2 separate regions of the Homo sapiens genome follow, and region 2 is linked to region 1. Evidence: promoter capture Hi-C in 16 types of primary human blood cells and fetal thymus (Javierre and others, 2016). All regions are on one chromosome and are shown on one strand. The core of a region is centred on a gene start or on the middle of the fragment in contact, and the rest is flanking DNA. Distances in the headings are between cores, read along the strand shown.

Region 1 (7,748 bases), core at 3,225-5,724:
CTAGGATCTATAAAAATAAATTTTTATGTAGATACATCTTAGTGAAACGACAGAAAGCCGAAGACTCAAGTTAAAAGATAAAGATTAAAGACTAGACTGGATTTTAAAACGTTCAACAGAATGCTGTTTACAAAGGCCACATAAGAATAAAAGAAAGTTGAAACCAAAAGGTTGGAAATGATATAATATGTAAATGCTAACCTAAATATAAAAGCTAATAGTACTATCAAATAAAGTTTAAGGCAAAAATAATTATTTGCTTCATAATAATAAAAGCTTTAGTTTACCAGTAATGGATAGCAGCTTTAAATGTGGATTGTTCCATATAGATAGAAATGCTGAAGAAACAGACAAATACCAATCACAGCGTGAGATTATTTAACATAACCTTTTTCAGTAATTGACAAAACAAGCATACCAAAAGTTAGCGAGAATACAAAAGTTTTGAACACATGATTAATAAACTTGACCTAATGGATATGTATAGGAAAATATATACATTAATTTCAGAATATATATATATATAATATATATATATTCTGAAATACTTGAATATATATATATTTCAAGTACACACAAAGCATTTACACAAATTTACCACTTTATGGCCATACAATGAGTCTTAACCCGTTTCACATGTTTGAAAATCTATAGCACATATTAGCTGGCCTCACTGGAATTTTGCTAAAAACCAATAACAATAAGAAAACTAGGATGTGCCATGCATTTGGAACTTAAGAAATAAACCTGTATTCCACCCTGTACTGGAGGTACTAGCCAGCATGGAAAGAATCATTCAATCAGTCAGTAGCAGGGGGAGAGAGAGAGAGAGAGAGAGAGAGAGAGAGAGAGAGAGAGAGAGAGAGAGAGAGAGAAACTACCATGATTGTGGTGAAGAGAAAAATCCACCATTCAGTCAACAGGAAAGAAAGACAAAAAGGAATGAAGGAAGGAAGGAAAGAAGGAAGGAAGGGACTGTCATTGCGATTGGGTGAAAAGAAAAATCAAAAAATCTACAGACAAAATCAATAGAATTAATAACTTTTGCAATGCTGCTGCATACAAGCTCACAAAATGGAAAATAATGTGTTTCTAAATACTATTAATAGTAGAAAATGAAATGAAAGATATTATTTACAATAAAATTTAAAAAATCAATTACCTAAACATAATAATAGGGGATCAAACCTCTACAGGGAAAGAATATAACTTTGTAAGCCTTGGAGATGACAAACAGATGGTGGGGAGGGGCATATCATATTCTGAATGGAAAGACGCAGTAGTCAAAATAGTTATTCTTTCCAGATAGATGTATAACTTCGAAGCAATCCCAGTCAAAAATCCCAACCATATTTTTATTTTAGGGATTTTTAAAATGGAATTAACAGGCTGATTCTAAAACAGATGGAAATACAAAGCACCAAGAATAGTCAATACATTATTAATGAAGGACAAGGTGGGTGAATTGATGAAGATATTAAGGATTGTATTAAAGCTATTGTAATTTGGCTTTGGAACTGGCATTAGTAGGTATAGTATGGGCAGTATAGACTATATGGAATGAAATAGAATAGAAACCTGGAACGAGACCCACACATATATGAACACTGGACCTACACCAAAGGCAATGCGGGAAAAGGAAAGTCTTTTCATTTATTGGTACAGGGAATATTGGGTATTCATTTGGAAAACAAATAAAATTTTGACATCTATATCACAGCATTCCAAAAACAAAAAAACTAACTCCATGTTGATCATAGACCTAAAAATGAAAGGTAAATTATAACTATTTTAGAAGTCAACATGGAAGAATATCCTCATGACCTCAAGATTATACAAAAAAAGTGATAAAACATGACATGAAAAACTCTAACCACAAGGGAAAAGAATGTATTAAATGAAGAATATTCTTTCATCAAAAGACACCACTAGGAAAGCAAAAAGGCAAGCCACAGAGTGAATGAAATGTTATTTGTGACATATCTAAGTACTAAAGTTCATATGCAATGGGACTCAAAAAAGGAAAAAAAAATTCCCACCCTCCCCCCCCAAAAATTAACACTACCTATACAGAAGAAGAAAAAGAAGTTGTGAATGAACAGGTAAAAATGTGCTCAACTTCACTGATAATCAAAGGACTGCAAATTAAAAGAACACTGAAATATAAAGCACATCTACCAGACTGGCAAAAATTAAAAATTCTTGGCAATACATACATTGGTGAGGATACAGCAGAAGACAAATTTTACACATTGTGTTAAGTAAAAGCTAATGCACTACTTTGGAATGTAACTTTCGTTTATTCAGAAAGGTTAAAAATATGCATAAACATGGCTGGGCGCAGTCACTCACATCTGTAATTCCAGCACTTTGGGAGGCTGAGGCGGGTGGACCACTTGAGGCCGAGTTCAAGACCAGCCTAGTCAACATGGTGAAACCCCATCTCTACTGAAAAAATACAAAAATTAGCTAGGCGTGGTAGCAGGCACCTGTAATCCCAGCTACTCGGGAGGCTGAGGCAGGAGAATCAGTTGAACCTGGGAGGCAGAGGTTGCAGTGAGCCGAGATTGCACCATTGCACTCCAGCCTGGGTGACAGAGTGAGACTCCATCTCAAAAAAACCCAAAAAACAAAAAACAAACAAAAAAGCATAAACAGCATATGAAACCTAGAGATACTCATACATATGTACATGACATTGTATACACAAGAGTGTTTATGGCAACACCATTATTCATGATATTAAAAATTTGGAAACACCCCAAATGTCCATCAACAGCACAATGGACAAATAATAAATGACGATAAAAATGAATGAACTGGAAAAACATGCAACAACACAAATGGATCTTAAGAGATATAATATTGAGAAAAAGAAGCAAGTTGTAAAAAAATAAACAGTATAAGTTCATTTATAGGAAAGTTCAAAAAAGTCAACACTAAACTATTTTAGGGATGCATCTATCATGGTACAATTATACATAAAAGCAAAGAAAGTTGGTATGGCAGTTACCTCTACGAAGGAGGGGTGATTAACAGGGGGCACGTTAGACTTCTGGGATTCTGGCAATATTCTCTCTCTGCACCTAAATGGTAGTTACATGGATACTTGCTTTACAGTAACTTATTATACTGTTCATTTGTGTTATAGTTCATAATTTTTAAAAGATTTTTTAACAATGATACATATTGATACTGAGGAATTGATACATATTCTCTACATATTGATATTGAAGAATTCTCAAGCTATATGTTGTAAAGTGAGAAATATGATGTGGAAAAAGTTTTTAAATGTATGTTTAAAAAGAAAGGAAGGAAGGGAATGAGAGAGTGAGAGAAAGAGAGAGAGAAAAGGAGAGAGAGGAAGAACAAGAAAGACATAATCAACGTGTAGAAGAATACGGTAACCCACACACCAAAACAGTTGTTGTCTTTGGGCAGGAGGAATAGGTGGCCAAGGGTCAAGGTTAGCAGGATTACTATTCACCGTGTACTCTTTTGTGTCTTTAATTTCATGCCATGTTAATGTATTACCTATTCAAAATAAATAAAATACCTAATCATGCTTATCCACAAGGGGTCACTATTGAATGCCATTTAACTCTAGTTCCTAACCAGGGAAAAAAACGTTCTGAATTCTTTATGTGCTTAACAGGAAGTGAAGAAACAACTTCATTTATGTTCTTATTTTACATTACACCACATCATGTTCCAGAAAACAATTGCCATTCGCAAATCATGCACAAAAGTATAACATTTAAAACGGAGTGAAAAAGACAAAAAAGTGAATAGATAATATGAAGTCGGGAATGAGTTTACAGAAGCGTTGTGTCAGTCATCTCCCCTAGTGGTAATTAGACTCTAAATTTTCGATTCTAAAATTAGATTCTAAATTTTCTAGCATCTGGGCTGAAAAAAAAAAGGGGAAGTATGGTCAGTTACACAATTCAAAATGTTGATCGGGAGAATATTAAGACCTTGCAGAGAATTTTCCCTGGTAGAGCCTGTTAAAAACAATCCATGAGGACCCTTTAGATGAAATTTTTGATTGGTCTTAACCACAAAAATGATCCACAGATGAATTATGAAACCATGTCATCTTACTCTCTAAGGGAGGTATAAGATGTTTTTGGACTTCAGATGAGAAGGGCTCCATTCATGGTTAATCATGAATGAAAACGAAACTAAGAATATATGCTGTAGAAAAAGAAGAAGAAAAGCCACAAGACTGCTTAAAAATTTCTGTGTCTTACACAGAAGATAGAAAAAATAGAGTGTCTCCAATTGGATGGATTTTTTAAAAAATTTGGTTATTGTAATGGATTTATTTTTTCTTAGAGCTGAGCTGATTGTACTTTGGCCAACTAATGGGTTAATACTGTCAAGGGAAATTAGCCCTGACTAAACATTGCCGCTGGCTCATGAATGCACTAGGCTTGGGGCAGTATAAAAACTCAGAGAAATCAGTGTGTAGGAGACACAGAAATCAGTGTCACTCAGTGACAGAAGCAACAATAATTGTGAAAAATACTTCAGCAGTTATGGACTCATCTGTCATTCAAAGGAAAAAAGTAGCTGTCATTGGTGGTGGCTTGGTAAGAATTTTCAGATGGATTACTATTGTTGGTGGTATTATATTAACTATTATTACTCGTAATGATTATTATTCGTCACTTCTGCAAATTGTTAATTTTCTTGTGAAAACTCTGATATTTAAATACAGCTATTTTGTTTATTTTTTTAATATTTTTATTTTCATAGATTTAATATAGTATGAGTTTTAATCTGTTCTTTTTCAGGAAAGGTATTTTATAGCCATTAAATACAAAGGTTTCTGTTTTCCCTCATCATTTTGGTTTAGGATTTGTTAAAAAGCAAAAATAATGCAAATTGAATTTGATTTTATCCCCAAATTGGCTATGTTTTTAGGAACAGGAATTAGTCTCAATATTCATTTTAATAAAAACATTTGTTCCGCTTTGTTTAATAACTCAGTTAATGCTGTCTAATGAGAATAAAAGGGTCAAGAAACATGAAGCTAACGTCAAAGTATCATGTTGAATGTTCACTAGTTATATGAGTAATTGGGAATAAGATTTATGTGGTCGCCTGACTTACTTGACTCTTCCAGTGGAGCACCTAAGACAGTGGAGTGAGGTGTTCACCTCTCACTGAGCACGTGACGTAAAGGTGCTGGGGCTTCCCCCATACCTAACAAGACGGAAGGAGAGGTCACTCTCTGCTTTCATAGTTATGGTGCCAAAGGTAGTTCTGTTTAACATGGGTCTGCTCCGATTCAACTTTGCTTTTTCCCATCTCAGCAGAATTTCTGTTTCAGAATACAAACATCCCAGTTAGTCAAGGTTAAATCATTTCCCTATCACCTTTGGTCAAATCATTTGGAGACTTTTCATTAATTATTCATATATCCACTCAACAAAAAATTTATTGAGGGCGTAACACTGTTCTAGGCTGAATATAGATGGTATATTTTATGCCACACATGTATTTATACAGTATATGCTGTCTTTTGTTCTGCCTTCCTTAGTGTCTTTTCCCCAAAGTGCTAGAACAGTTCTTTTAATATTTCTGATTCTAAATTTTCATTTAGAAATGCTATCACATGATGTGTTGGTCACTGGTTGGGACATGTGTCGTCACTGCTTCATACTAGGCTTGTGTCCAATCTGTCCTATCAAAATGTTGCACAAAATGAGAATTCATGTGTTCAACAAAATCTGATTACTATGTACCAATATTGTTTTAGGTAGTAGGGATGCGAGGGTGAGAATTCCAGAGAAGAAAAAGACAAGGAAGAAGAAAACAAATAAGACAATTTCAGTTAAAGAGAAGCACTATGAAAGAAACGAAAACAGGGTAGTGCTGTAGAGAGTATCTTTGGGAGTACCTGTTTAGAATGTGGTCAGGGACAGCTGCTCTGCTGAAGGGACATGTGACCAGAGACCTGAATGATCAGATAGAACTAACTACGTGAAGATCTTGAGAAAGAGCATTTCAGGCAGAGGGAACAGCAGGAAGAGAAACCCTCAGGCAATAATGAGCTGCCCAAGTTCAAGGAGCAGAAAGAAAGGCAGGAACTGCCTGAGGCCAGAGAAGAGTAGCTGATGAGGCCAGAAAAGCTGACAGACCAGATCTTGTAGGATCTTAGAGGTCCAGGCAAGAAGATCAGATTTTGTTCAAATTACAATGGGAAACTATTGGAGGATTTTAGGCAGGAAATTAAGTTGTGATTTTAAAAGGTCCCTTGGACCATTATGTGGAGAATGACTAGGAACATTTTAAGATGACAAGATAGACCAGTTAGGAGGCTGTTACGTTAGCTCAAGACTTGGACTAAGGTGGCAGCAGTGATGTCTCATTTTAAAAATTGTCTCTTAGAAATCCAAGGGAGAGATAACAAATATGTGATTGTATATATGGTTTTGGGGGGCATAAAAATGTGGGTGTCATCCATGGATTTCTCCCTGAATAACATGAGATTGTCATCATGTAACCACGTCATACATATGCTGGAAAATAGGAGACAAAAATTACTACTTGCGTATTAGGGAGCAACTAAAATTCCTCTGCAAAAGAATTCTATCCATCCTATTGTTCAAGTCCATGCTTACGCATCATGTTTGATTCCTATTGTCATTTTGTGCAAACGCTTATTCTTCTTTCACTCCATCAGTAAGCCTTGAGGCTCTATATCCAAAATACATTTAAATTCTAGCCATTACAACCATCCTGGCCCAAGCCATTATCATCCGCCATCCTTATTCCTGCAACAAGCTCCAAATTAGTCTCCCAGCTTTAACTCCTTTTCCCTTATAGTCCATACTACACACCACAGCCAGAAACACCCTTCTAAAACATGAGTCTGATCATTATCATCCCCTGCTTAAAATCTTCCAATGATCTCCCATTACAAATAAAATAAAACCCAAACTCTTTACCAAAGGTCTTGTCTGAACTAAGCCTATCTGCCTTTCTGGCTTCACCCCTTTCCCTTTTTATTTGTTAATCTTATCTACCAGTATCGGAAATTACACACTTTGGGTTTTTTTTTTTAACCTGTTTCTTAGATATCTACTCCAACTAGGATATAAACTCTTATTAACCAATGTATTCCAGAGGCTGTAATTATGCCTAACATTATGTATTGGGTGGATGAATAAATGAGAGGAATGAGAAAACTTAATGATATAAAGGTGAAAAAATAATAACAGATGCATGTTTGAATATTGAGAAAATTATTTTTAAAAGTATTGACTAAATAGAGCAATTCAAGAAGGTTAATGTCTTTACATAGAGGACAAGATTACATTTTTGCCCATCTTCTTCTGTTTTTTTTTCCACCCTCCCTTCCTACCTCCTCCTTTCCATAAACCATATCCCAGTACCTTATACTGTCTAACACATTAAAGGCTCTCCCCTGGCCCCTAGAAAAAAAAATGAGAGTTGAGAACCTTTACTTAGACATCCAAAAAATATAGTGAACTTCCCTCAATTCTTATCAGTGGTAGCTTACCATGTCTAGTAAACTTGCCTAATGAAAAGTCACCCTGAGAAGTTATTCTTGCTCTGATGTAGTGATCATCTGATATTGGGTTAAACCAGTTGATTTCCTTTCTTTGAAGACATGTTCAGTCAAAGAGATCAACAAACCAGTAAAAAAACTCCTAATGAGAAACAAAAGGTAAAAGAAACTAAACCATAATCATAAACCAGGTAAAGTTTAAATA
Region 2 (7,748 bases), core at 1,663-4,162, 230 kb after region 1:
AATGATAAGTAGGTTTTATTCTTAGCTAAAAGCCCTTTAAAATCAATATACACAGTGACTATGTCATAATAACGTTATCATGTAATATGCACAAAAGACAGAACAAAATGCATGTCCTCGTAGACCAATTCTAGCCTACTTCCCTTTTCAACTCTACATATAATTGGAAACACTAGGTTCAATTATATGTATTTGATATATGAAATCTTATTTATAGCTAATAAAAACAGAAAGAAGATGACTGCACAGTGAGTCAGAACCAGGCAGTTAACAAATAATTGTGTAGGTACCAAAAAATGATTGCTTAAAAAAAAAAGAAAAACTATGGTGATAAATTATAAACTATTGAAACACAATAAAGTGCCTTGTAGGCTTTTAATGTAAATGTAAATTATCTCCAATTTTGAATCTTTATTTTTTGTAGTTATCATAATTATCATTATAGCACTTCCTTTTTGCAACAGACTTTAAAATTATAGATTGAAAGTTTGCAAAAGTCGGCCAGGCACAGTGGCTCACACCTGTAATCCCGGCACTTTGGGAGGCCAAGGCGGGCAGATAACTTGAGGTCAGGAGTTCCAGACCAGCCTGGCCAGCGAAACCTCATCCTTAATAAAAATACAAAAGTTAGCCAGGTATGGTGGCGTACGCCTGTAATCCTAGCTACGGGGGAGGCTGAGGCATGAGAATCACTTGAACCTGGAAGGTGGAGGATGCAGTGAGCTGAGATCATGCCATTGCACTCCAGCCTTGGCAACAGAGCAAGACTCAGTCTCAAAGAAAAGTTTGCAAAAGTCAATTAGGAAAAAAATTTGATTGTGCATGGAAATCCTCTCCCTAAAACTCTTTTATTTAGAAGCACTTTTTATTGAATACCTGCCACCGTATCATGCACTGTTCTTAGCACTGGGAATGTCAAGATTAATGAGGTATAGTACCTGCACTGTAGAAGTACAGCAGAGATCCTGGAGGGCTGGGGAGACGGGGAGGTTTTTGAAGAGGATAATTGCTGAATTATAGCTAAAGAACTATCAGGAGTTAGCTTGGCTCAGATAGGCAGTTTCTAGAGGATAGTGAAAAGACAGTGAATCTCAAGTGGAAGAGGTAATGTGAACGAAATAATGGAGGTAAAATATTGCATGGTTTGTGAAGGATAACTACAAGTATCTCAGTGTGGCTGGAGTAATACTGGGAGTAGTTAAAAATGAAGACAAACAAATAGGTAGGGACCAGACCATGCTTACAAGAATAAGGAGCTTGAGCATCCTATAACAAATGGAAGGCCATGGAAGGGCTTTAAATGAGAAATGACACGATCAGATTTGTGCTGTGGGCAGCTCATCTTTGATGCTGCCTGGATGACAGATTTGACAGGGACAGGACTAAAGGCAGAAGATTCAGGCAACAGGCTACTTCCTGTTTTAGTTAAAAGATATAAGGATGACCAGGCTCAGTGGCTCACACCTGTAATCTCAGCATTTTGGGAGGCCAAGGTGAGAGGATCACTTGAGGCCAGGAGTTCGAGGCCAGCCTGGGCAACATAGGCCCCATCTCTACAAAAAAATTTTTAAAAATTTAAAAAAATTATTTGGGTGCAGCGGCGTGCACCTTCAGTCAAGCTATTTGGGAGGCTGTGGTGGGAGGAGTGCTTGAGCCCAGGAGTTCGAGGTTGTAGTGAGCTATGATTGCACCACTGCAGACCAGCTTGAGTGACAGATCAAGATTCTGTCTCTAAAGAAATTTACAATGATAAAATAATAAAAGATATAAGGTCATGACAATGGAGATGGTGCAGAAGAAAATGTTCTGGTTTCAGAAAATATCTAGGCAGTAAAAGTAGCATAACTTGCAATTACACCATGCAGTTGGGAGAGGAGGGCACTGAAAGAAAGGAAGGAAAGAAGGACAGTTCCAGGATTTCTAACTTGAATGATGAACTGAAAAATAGCGCTAACCAATGAAATAAAGAATAGAGGACTGGGCACTATGGCTCATGCCTATAATCCCAGAACTTTGGGAGGCTGAAGTAGGTGGATTACTTGAGCTCAGGAATTTGAGACCAGCCTGGCAACATAGTGAGACCTTGTCTCTACAAAAAAAATCAAAACATTAGCCAGGCATGGTAGCACCCACCTGTGGTCCCAGCTACTCCAGAGCCCAAGGTGGGAGGATCGCTTGAGCCCAGGAAGTCGAGGCTGCAGTAAGCTGTGATCATTCCACTGTACTCCAGTCTGGGCAACAGAGGGAGATCTGTCTCTGAAAAAAAAAAAAGAATAGAGCAAAGAAACATGCCTAAAGGAGGTGATAAGTTACATATATTAACATTGAGATACCTGTAAAATGTCTAAGTAATTAAATATATAAGCCTGAAGCTTGTAGGAGAGGACTGGACTAGATAATTAGGTCACTAGCATTGAGATATTTGAAACATAATCTGAGATTCCTCAGAAACAGTTGAAAAAAAATGTATTTGAGATAAACCCCAAAAATATTAATATTTAAAAGACTGGCAGAGCAAGAGGGTACCAAGTAGGAAACAGAAAAAGAAAAGTCGCAGAGACACAGCAAAACCAGCAAAGCCTGGAGTCAAGGACGTCAGGAGAGTAAGGAGTTTCAGGAAGGGGAGAGCAACTGAGAGTGGTAATTGACAGTGGTAATAGACCTCTCCTCTTATTTAAATGTCACTCTTCTATGATCCTGTCAAGTTACATGCGTGCCTCCCTCCGATACAGCACTTTCACATTGCACTGTAATCAACACTTTGAGTACTTTAAAGTATTATGTTTCTCCAGATCACAGATGTCCTACTTGACTTTGTATTCCAAATATCTAACATAGTAGATATCTAACAAATATTTGAGGCAAGACAATTGAAAAAGATCTTAATGATAAATAGCTATCACAGGGTGTTATGAAGCAGAAGCCAATGAAATTTGCTGAGTGAAAGAAAAGTTGGTAAGTGGAAACGACGAACGTAGAATATTCTTTCAACAAGTTTGAAGGGAAGAGGAAGACGGGAAGAAAGTTGGGAAGAAAGAATAAATAAGGCTGAGAAAAAGCAGCCAGTAAACAGGAAGAGTATATATTTGTTGATCTAATGAATTCTGCCAGTTAAAAATTTTAGTGCAAGAAAAATAAGATTTTACTAAATTTCATGCTCTGATATTAAAAATATATATAATAAGGCATTTTGTTTTAAGTTGATGACAATTACAAAGTGTACACATGGCGTTTGCACCGCGAATCATGAATACTATATTTATGGTGTTCTGTTTCCTTCGTTCTTCAGAATCCCACCATGGATTTATTACGAGTGAACTGCATTGATTTACTACAAGTAGAAGGATATAATTTGATAGCAGCTGGAACCTTAAATGGTGTGATCATCTTATGGAATTTTGTGACGTCTACTGTCAAAAAAGTGTAAGTTGTGTATTATCCTTAAACAATGTAAAAGCTTTACTGCAGAAGGGCTCAGTAGCATGCAACACTCAGGGAAGGGCTGGGCGCGGTGGCTCAGGTCTGTAAACCCAGAACTTTGGGAGGAGGATCACTTAAGGCCAGGAGTTCGAGATCAGCCTTACCAACATGGTGAAACCCTGTCTCTACTAAAAATACAAAAAGTAGCAGGGCGCAGTGGCGCCTGCCTGTAATCCTATCTAATGGAGAGGGTGAGGCATGAGAATTGCTTGAACCTGGGAGGTGGAGGTAGCAGTGAGCTGAGATCACACCACCGCACTACATCCTGGGTGACAGAGTGAGTGAAACTCAGTATAAAAAAAAAAAAAAAAACCTCAGGGGACAAAAAAGCAATACATAAAAATGGTGATAACTTTCAAGGCAGGCGTTCCTGGAAGTTATATTCATGAATGGACTGTGTTCTAAGTGTCTAAATCCCAGGATGATATAAGTAAGGTGAACTGTAAGCATCTATATTCCCAAGAGCTTTGATCTTTACTATTCTCAACTAGTATATGCTTTTCATGTGTGATCTTGCCCAAATTTATGACCTCAACAAATAATTAAAATACATAACAACTTCAAACTAATCTCTCTAGAGCTTCAAACACACATAACCAATTGCCTATTGGCAATTTTCATCTGATTGTTACCAAGACCCTCAAAGCCCTACATGCCTGAAACATCTTCCCAACCTACTCCCCGCTCCCAAACTTCTCCCCTTCCTGTATCCCCAGTGCCACCACCATCTACTCAGCCACCAAAGTCACATGGTGAGAAGACTCCTGGGTAGCATATCCTTCTCATTCACCACCTCAACACGTCTGATTTATTACAGATTGGGGCTAACAAGGGCCAATGTTGTAGATGCAATTATTCCTCTCAACCAATTAGATTTACCCTGGACTATGGCCAAGATCTTACCCTCCCCATACCATCCACTTCTCAATGTTTTTTTTTTTTTGCATTTGTTGAGAAGGAACTAAAGTAACACTGAATGATTTGTTTGGATGGATTGTAAGTAATAAGTTCTCCCCAGCTGTGTAATTGGAACGTGTGCAAGGGCCATGTGTGGCCACCCTATGGCAAGGGGGTTTGGAAAATTTTACTTACAGATACAAGATGGCCAAGAACCTTAATAATAAATGAAAATAAAATCAAGTTTATCTAAGCATTTGGGGGACGGGAAGAGATATAAAAGAGGAGAGAAGGGAGAATTGGAAAGGACAGGAGAAAAGGAGAGGAAAATACAAAAGAAATGTCTGCCTCTCTCTTTACACTTCTTAACATACTGCTGGTCTGCCTGCTCCTTCCCATCCAAGCCTGAGTCATTTCTTTTAGCCAGTTTTTGAAAGGAAATAATCATTTATTGCTTGGACTATGGATTTCTTCTCTTTGAACCTTTAATTGAAATAGCTGTTTCTGCAGACCCCCCTTTCTGCACCTCAGTCCACATACTCCTGGATCCTGCCCCTGGAATTCCTGTCATCCTTCTGTTCCTTCACTTCAGCCCATGCCCCCAGCCTTTTCTCACACATTGTCTACCTGCCACTTGATACCTACACCTGTCTGCACTGCAAACTTCCCCTCCTTCTTGCTAATGCTTTCACGCTGTGTCAGCTTGTGTATGACTCTTTCCTAAGAAGGGAAATCAGATAGACTAAGAAGACCATTATCTTGATGCCACAGCCTAAAGAGGGGGGCAACACCCGTGATAATAATCCCACTTTAAAGGTGAAGATCCTCCTTGTTAAAGTGCCTTGTTATTTTGCCAAGGGATGCATGCATATCCAACATCCAATCAGAGGAAAACAACCAAGTATAGTGTGGGTCATACACAGTGTCCCTTTCCTATAGGCAGATGATTATATAAGACAATTGATTTATAATCAGTGCAGTATTTTGCAAAACATATGATTTAGCACAGATCTGTGGAAGGTCATTTAGGCCCAGGTTTAAAAGTTCTGAAACTGAAAATGGTTTCCATATTTGCAGTAGAGTCCATCTCTTTGTCTACCACAAACTTCACCTAAGACCCCTTCACCAGTCAGAGGAAATAACTCTTCTCTTCCCACTCTAAGCCTCAGGCTTTTTGAGCCCAGACTTAATATTATTCTTGCTAATTAATAATCCACTTCATGATTCAGCTCATCTGCACAACAGAAATCTCTTAAAAAATTTGAGTTCAACAAGTCATCAAGCTTGTAGACTTCTCTTTTGAGCTTGGGTTCACTTTCCAGGAGGCCCCTTCATCTCTTGCAGAAGTAATTTCCACTGAAGAAACAGGGGAAATTTTGCTGTAAGGTCTATTTGCTATAATGAATGTTAAATGCAGCTTTAAGAGCCAGGCATGATGTTTCAGTGCAGGCATTTAGGGACTATTCCCCTGTTCCTAGGATGGTGCCTACAAAGTTCAGTGTTGACCTTGGAATCTGGGTCAACAGGAGACTGGAGCAGCAAGAGCAGGGTCCTCACTGGACTACCTGTTCTTCTCCACTCCATTATAAGCTCTTTAAGGGTAATAATATTTTATTCAAATTTATTACTCCACTTATTTAAAAAATATTAGAACTCTATTATTTAAACTGTATGAAACCAGCCCGGCGTGGTGGCTCCCATCAGTAATCCCAGCACTTTGGGAGGCTGAGGCAGGAGGATCGCTTGAGCCCAGGAGTTCAAGACCAGTCTGGGCAACATAGTTGGCCCCCATCTCTAAAAGTAAAATAAAATAGAGTTTTTTCCATAGGATTTTGTAGAAGTCCATTCTCTGATCTAAAGGTAGGAAGATTAGACAGGTTAGTTGAATTAAAAGACTTTTAAACCGTTGAGGATCATGATTTAACAGAACCTTGCTAAAAAAGCTATGTTCAAACTCTACTTCCTTGCATTTTCTTTTCATGTTCAATAATATTAGCATTTGAGGAATTGCCTAGCTCTGCAGAGGATATACAATCTTAGTACTGTAAGCTCCATAATTTGTGAATTTTTTCTCATATAAATGTATACTTACTTCTAGGTACCGACCTGAAGATTGCTTCACTGTAAACCCTGACTTGCATCCCAAGCACTTTAAAATTAATGACATACTGTTCCTCTTTCGTACCCCTGAATGTGCAAGGTAACTCGTTACTTACTGAACCAGTAATACTGTCTGGGACTTAGGTGGCTGATACATTAGGTTGATGCAAAATTAATTGTGGTTTTTGCCATTGAAAGTAATAGAAAGAGTTTACTTCATCCCAGCATTAAAGAAGGGACCACTGAAAAAAGACATCAGTTGGGTTGACACGTGGCTTCCGCTTTCTTCCCATAACTGTCATTTTGGAGGTGAGGTTCTCCTCAGGGATTTAAAGTGCTGTGTGGTCCCCTCACCATGTCAGCCTCACAGCACCCTTTATCACATAGCAGAGATGGAAAATGATCACTTGGCTTTACTTTTCGCCAAAATCTGACACAGGTGTGAAACAGAAGGAAGGACTTGCAAGGCAAGTATGGAAGGTCATATGGCAGGAGGTTTCATCCACCATCCACTATAACTGAGCAATTGTCATCCATTTCTGAAAGAGCAAGGGATTTAAGAAAAAATCCCTTTTTTCCTATTTATATTTGCATAAGAGCTCTGGTTTGCAGGCAATAGATAATGCCACACATAGCTTTGGAGAGAAATCAGAAGCTTCTGTGCTGGTTTGGGGTCACCCAGAGGTGAGCCAGAATGTAACCCCTTCCCTACCCCTTGGCATGAAATTTCATCAAAACTGTTCTGAGAATATTTTGAGGACTTATTCTGTAGACATCTGCACCAGACCTTAAGCCACTTTTCAGCCGGTTTCAGTGGAGTGCCACAGACTAGGATCTGGTGAGAACTAGACATTGTCAAGCAGGAAGTTAGACAGGCTTGTAAGGTCCCCCCACCACCACCCCACCCCTTGCCATTTCAGTGTAAGAGCCTCTGGGACTAAATCTAGCCTTTGCAGTGGGATAGGCAAGACTTTTATTTTCTGACAAAGGGAGCAATAAACCTTATTTGCTGAGGCTCCCCAAGAGTCTCCACCAATATCATACTGGTCAACATTTATTACACAGAATATAAGGCATGATTTGTTTCCTGAGTGGCTCAGTATCCACAGATGATGAAAGAAGCAATCAGCTGAAATTAAAGCAGAGAAGCACACCCTTTGAGTATGGTAGCATATCTTAAAGTTTTACCTGTGGGCTTCCCCACTCCCCTTATAGGAGATCAAGTCAGGATTCCATATGTTCTTCATCCCAGTGTGAATCCAGCAAAGGTC

The links. Contacts are between HindIII fragments. The CHiCAGO score rates a contact against its expected background, and 5 or more counts as called.
Region 2: a fragment that was not itself captured here is called in contact with the fragment with the promoter of KMO in region 1 in 1 of 17 cell types (monocytes); the score reaches 6.1 in monocytes.

The regions. Positions count from the first base shown.
Region 1 is chr1:241,527,904-241,535,651 of GRCh38, forward strand. It overlaps KMO (kynurenine 3-monooxygenase), which reads left to right and starts at 4,475. Exons shown (of 15, transcript NM_003679.5): 1 at 4,475-4,595. The coding sequence starts at 4,542. RefSeq lists an enhancer at 4,058-4,207. The HindIII fragment of the contact is 7,761 bases long and covers 275-7,748 here.
Region 2 is chr1:241,762,929-241,770,676 of GRCh38, forward strand. It overlaps WDR64 (WD repeat domain 64), which reads left to right. Exons shown (of 28, transcript NM_001367482.1): 16 at 3,290-3,423; 17 at 6,476-6,577; 18 at 7,693-7,748. Among named protein-coding and RNA genes, the nearest start is that of EXO1, 81 kb to the right of the region's middle. The HindIII fragment of the contact is 1,085 bases long and covers 2,371-3,455 here.